Regions from separate parts of the Homo sapiens genome. Here region 2 is linked to region 1. The links are contacts of gene promoters, found by promoter capture Hi-C in human tissues and cell types (Jung and others, 2019). All regions are on one chromosome and are shown on one strand. Each heading gives the region's core, a stretch centred on a gene start or on the middle of the fragment in contact. The rest is flanking DNA. Distances are from core to core; before and after follow the strand shown.

Region 1 (2,738 bases), core at 189-2,688:
CCAGGTTTTGCCATTTTGGCCAGGCTGGTCTCAAACTCCTGACCTCAAGTGATCTGCCCACCTTGGCCTCCCAAAGTGCTGGGATTACAGGCGTGAGCTACCGCTCCCGGTCTAATTTTTAAATTTTTGTTTTGTAGAGATGAGGGTCTCCCTTTGTTGCTCAAGCTGGTCTCTGTCTCTTGGGATCAAGGGATCCTCCTGCCTCAGCCTCCCAAAGTGCTGGGATTACAGGCCTGGGCCACTGCAACCTGGCCTTCATCACAAATTCATTGAACACACTTTCTTTATTTTATCCTTTTTTATTTTTAAAAATTTTTATTTCAGTAGTTTTGGAGGAACAGGTTGCATGGAAAAGTTCTTTAGTGGTCATTTCTGAGATTTTGGTGCACCCATCACCCGAGCAGTGTACACTGTACCATGTGGCACACACTTTCACTTAAAGCATTTACTAGACCTCGCTAGCCAGATTTCCCATCCCTGAGACACCTGGAATGTTCCTGAGGACTTAGTGACTACTGCCTAAAGCTCCACCCAAGTCAATTTTATGTTTACAGGCAACCGGAGCATCCAATCACCTTTCTCTAAGAGAGTACAAAGATCAGCTCGCGAGAAAGTTCAGACGTCTCATTTCGTTTCTATTACACGGGGCCTTCGCCCAACCAGACGGAGTCTTGCTCTGCTGCCCAGGCTGGAGTGCAGTAGCGCGATCTCGGCTCATTGCAACCTTCGCTCCCCGGGTTTAAGCAATTCTCCTGCCTCAGCCACTGGAGTAGCTAGGATTACAGGCGCACGCCACCACGCCAAGCTAATTTTTTGTATTCTTAATAGAGACGGGGGTTTCACCATGTTGGCCAGGCTGGTCTCGAACTCCTGACCTCATCATTTGCCCGCCTCGGCCTCCCAAAGCGCTGGGATTACAGGCGTGAGCCACCGTGCCCAGCCTCGCCGGGGCCTTTTAAGTGACGTTAAAAATTGTACATAAAATATGTTTTAGGATAATACTTGTTTTTCTTTGACCAAAGGCTTGGCTTCAGAGAATGTTTAGCCAGAAATAGAGGGGCGTTAAATCCCCTTTTTTCTAATTTCCAATCTGAGGAGGAAAATAACGTAGTAAAGGGACGCAAGAGCAACCTTGCTTCTTCCACAACAAGGCCCAGGCGCCGCCTTGCAACCCGGAAATGCAGGGTGCAGTGCGGGGGGTAAGGGACCGGCCAACTATGTTGACCCGACTCAGAGAAACCCCGCCCTTGCCGCCACCGCCCACCCATAACGTCCTCCTCGACCCTCCCTCGACCATCCCTCGCCCCGCGGCCCTCACCGAAAAGGGGAGGGCGGTGGAAGAGAGAGGAGTCAAGGGAGCGCACGCGAAGCCCCGCCCCTGCCGTGACGTCTGGAGACGCGACGCGTCGCCTCGCAATGCAAATCGGGAAAAGGGGGTGAGCTGGGCTGGCTTCCGTCCTGGTAGCCAAGGCTAATTCTCCCTCGAGTTCTTGGGAGATGGGCATTTGGCGAGAAGGCTGGCGTTAGTGAAGCGCGCCCGGCGTCACGGTGAGTGCGGGTCTTGGGCCCTAGCACCTGTTCTCTGGGAAGTCGTCCGCTGTGAACGATGAACGCCTTTCCTTCCACCAGCTGCTGGTTACCCCGGAGACAAGCTCTGTCCGCGGAGAGGAGTGGGACAACTCCTAAAGGTAGAATCAGCTTGTGGAGAGGAAAGGCCCAACCTTGAGTCTTTTACGCCATCTACCTAGGATTGCCAAGCGAGTTTCGTGTGTTTTTTTGGTTTTAAAAGGTGGCTTTGACCAATCTTCCGTTCTCTTGGACACTTATACCCGACTTTGACCTCTTTCCTCTTGCTTCCGGTTTTTTTTTTTTTCTGCAATCTGCCTACAATCCCAGGCCTTACTGTAGCTCCTAAAACTGTTTCCCAGTTTCTCTTCTTCCCCAGTCACACTTGATTTTAGTGAAGTTTGAGTTTAAAGACCCTATAAGCTTGTCAGAGTTAAAACTATGACTTCCTCAAATAGAAGATTTTTTTTTTTTCCCCTAAAAAGTGCCTTCCATCCTAGAGTTGTGGGACAAGTTAATTTCACCGCCACTCCACCTTGGAAATTATCAGAATCCTTACTAGCAGTGATGTGCATTATAAAGCTGCAGACCACCCTCCTGGGTTTATTTCTTGCCTCCAGTTCATTCTGTGACCTTGAACAAGTCACTTAATCACTAACAAAAAATTTACCTGACACGGAGGTGTTGCAGAGCCTAAGGAATTTAGTATTTGTTAAGAGACCTGAGGGTTTCAGATGAAAGGGATTTATATCTAAAGGATGTTACCTTTTCTGAATCTGCAAAGCATCGTTAGTTTTGTAAATATCTTGCTGCAGCCATTAAAAATGCCAAGTGGTATTTGTTAAGGAAGTATTCCTGTTTTAGGCTTGCTCTGCTGCGGCTTTGCTATGTAAGCAGATTTTTGCATTTCAGCCGATTCTGTTTAAGATTCGTTGGTGAATGTCATTCATGATGGATTTGGGTAGTTTCTCCTTACAGCATATCCCTGGACTATTAAGCATATCTGGAAGGTGATATCGGTTGTGTTATGTCTTTATCATGTTGATATGGCTGCTTTGAAATATGTATTCCTTTTCTTGTGACACATTGGATGCATCTTTAATATTAGTGAAGACCCTGTAGTAGTTTAAAAAAAAAATACACCTCTCATTAATGAAATTTTGCACATAGAC
Region 2 (2,700 bases), core at 123-2,622, 1.7 Mb after region 1:
CCAGGAGGCTACATTTCGGATCAAAAAACTTGCTGGTTTTAATAGTTTGGCTATAGGTATCCGATAACATGGGCCACTTCAGTCATTGAATCAACGCCAATAAGGTGGTGGGGAAAGAAATGGGGTCTAGCTCAGAGCCCCCAGAGGCATGCAGTGGGCTCATCACCAGGTGGCTTTCCTTGATCATCAGCTGCAGGGCAAGGGCCTGTCCCTCTAACCTTGACCACAGAGATGAAGGCTTGCAGCTGAAAGCCAGGGGCCTAGAACGTTCTCACCGAGGACTGGGTGCAGAGGACTAGAAATTAAGGAACCTTGGGTCAGCGCCACCACTGGGCGACCACCACACTCCACAACCTCTCTGGCCAGGCTGAGAGGCGTAGGGGGTTGTGATCAATGGGTCTGAGTCTCTCCAAAGGCGCATTTAATAGGCGAAGGAGAAAAACACCCCACCTGGCTGGGGCCCCGCCATTGCTGACTTCATTGGTTGGGGATTTCTATAGGAGCAAAACGTTCAGACCTAACGTGGGTGCCCCCCTAAAAGTCCCCGACGGCTAAGGCCAGGGCAAGGTCCAAGTGAGCAGACCTAAGCCTGCGCAGCTGCTTCGGAACGGTTCACGGCCGTCTAAGAAGGCCGATTTCTGCCGGCCTTTCTGCCAGGGGAGGAGAAACCCCAGACTTCACAGCGAACGTTCCAGGCCCGCTGAAACGAGCCTTTCTGCTTTCACGAAACCTCGTTCCAGGGGCCTGGCGCGGTGGGTTCCTCACCGTGCCAGCCTCGTGGGCGCTTCCCGGCTGCCCGTCCCGCCCCGTGTCCCGGTGTCCGCCGCGTGCTCACCCAGCCGCCCTGAGCCTGCAGCCAGGCGCGGTGCTGCCCCATGAGCCGCGAGCTCAGCAAGGCCACCAGGCGCTGGCAGTCCCGGGCGACGTCGCCCTCCTGCTCCTTTAGCCGCGGCTGGAAGCCCCACTTCTTCCACCGGGCGGTCACCAGCGGCCCTCTCTCCAGCAGCGTCCCTGCGAAGGTCACGAGCGTCACCACTCTGCCCCAGGTGGGGCCGGGGCTGTCGGAGAGCACGGAATCCGCCATCAGCGCCACCAGCTCGAAGCGGTTCCCGGGGTAGCCGAGGTAGGCGGAGAAAAAGGACCGGTGAATCTGCCGTAACCTGGCGGCCGCGGAGCGCAGCACGGCGGCCTCGGGCGTGGATGGCGCCGGCTCGGGGGTGCCGGGTTCCCGGGCGCAGTACCCCAGGTAGTCGGCCAGCAACAGCTCGGTGCGCTCCCGCAGCGGGTCGGCCATGGTGGTGCGCTCCCGCAACTGGTCAACCATGGTCCGGCCTCTGCTGGGGGGCCGGGCCTTCGCTGGTTTTCTTGGCCCGGCCGCGCCTCCCCCAGGGTAGGGCTGCCGTGCCCCGCCCCGGCCCCCGGCCCCCGGCCCCCGGTATATTGTTTTTCAGGACTGAGAGAAGAGCCTTTGATGGGAATCCCACCTGCACCTGTTCCAGTCCCCAAGGCAAGGCCTGGTGGTGCGCACGTGTTCGCGTAGCAATCAGATGCACTGTGAGACTCGGGTTATTTAGCTCCAGTGGCGCGATCTTGGTTCACTGCAAGCTCCGCCTCCCAGGTTCACACCGTTCTCCTGCCTCAGCCTCCCGAGTAGCTGGGACTACAGGCGCCCGCCACCATACCTGGCTAATTTTTTTGGATTGTTTAGTGGAAACGGGGTTTCACCGTGTTAGCCGGGATGGTCTCGATCTCCTGACCTCGTGATCCGCCCGCCTCTGCCTCCCAAAGTGCTGGGATTATAGGCGTGAGCCACCGCGCCCGGCCATCTAATATTTATATTAAACTTTCTCAGTTCATATTACTCCGTGGCTTCTTTCTCCTGATTGGATCCAGACTGATGCAGAATGGATACTAGCAGTGGTATTTCTGGGGGTTCAGGGGTCTGGAGCATGTTGAAATAGCCCTCCCAGGGTGAAAGATGAGTTGCTGCATCTTGCATCACTACAAAAGAGGCACGGCACTTGGCAGCTGTCTTAGTCTGTCCAGGCGGCTATAGCAGAATGCCATAGACTGGGTGACTTATAAATAAAGGCATTTATTTCTCACAGTTTTGTTGGCTAAAAAGTCCAAGGTTGAGGCCCTGGCAGGTTCTGTGTCTTGTAAGGACCTGCTTCCTGGTTCATAGACAACAGGCTTCTTGCTGTGTCCTCACATTGCAGTAGGTGTGGAGTAGCTTTCCGGGGTCTCTTTTATAAGGACAATAATCTCATTCGTGAGGGCTCCACCTTTGTGATCTAATACCTCCCAAAGGCCCCATCTCTGAATACCATCACACTGGGGGTTAGGATTTCAACATATGAATTTTGGGGGACACAGCCTGGAACAGTAAGCCATTTTGGACTTTGAAGGCAACATATACTGTGTTTGTGCTATTTCAACCCAATTGACAGGCTGGTGGATTGAGGAGCAGAATAAGAGAAGACTCTGCAGAAGGTTCAGGCTGCAGTAAAGCTGCCCTACCACTTGGGTCTTGTGATCCAACAGATCCAGTGGGACTTTGTCCAACAGGGATGCTGTATGGAGCCTCTGGCAAGCACTGACAGGAGAGAGTACAGACCTCTAGAATTCTAAAGTAAATCTAGAACCTCTTCTGAAGATAACTACTCTCCTTCTGAGAAGCAGGTTCTGCCTTGCTACTAG

Evidence for each region. Contacts are between HindIII fragments. The study calls those that stand out against the background at their distance.
Region 2: a contact is called between the fragment with the promoter of BCL2L10 here and the fragment with the promoter of USP8 in region 1, in 1 of the 25 tissues and cell types used here (small bowel).

Annotation. Positions count from the first base shown.
Region 1 is chr15:50,422,967-50,425,704 of GRCh38, forward strand. It overlaps USP8 (ubiquitin specific peptidase 8), which reads left to right and starts at 1,439. Exons shown (of 20, transcript NM_005154.5): 1 at 1,439-1,548. RefSeq lists enhancers at 262-1,258, 1,297-1,686 and a silencer at 1,137-1,186. The HindIII fragment of the contact is 18,008 bases long and covers 1-2,738 here.
Region 2 is chr15:52,111,403-52,114,102 of GRCh38, forward strand. It overlaps BCL2L10 (BCL2 like 10), which reads right to left and starts at 1,373. Exons shown (of 2, transcript NM_020396.4): 1 at 836-1,373. The coding sequence starts at 1,324. RefSeq lists a silencer at 1,220-1,379. The HindIII fragment of the contact is 13,214 bases long and covers 1-2,700 here.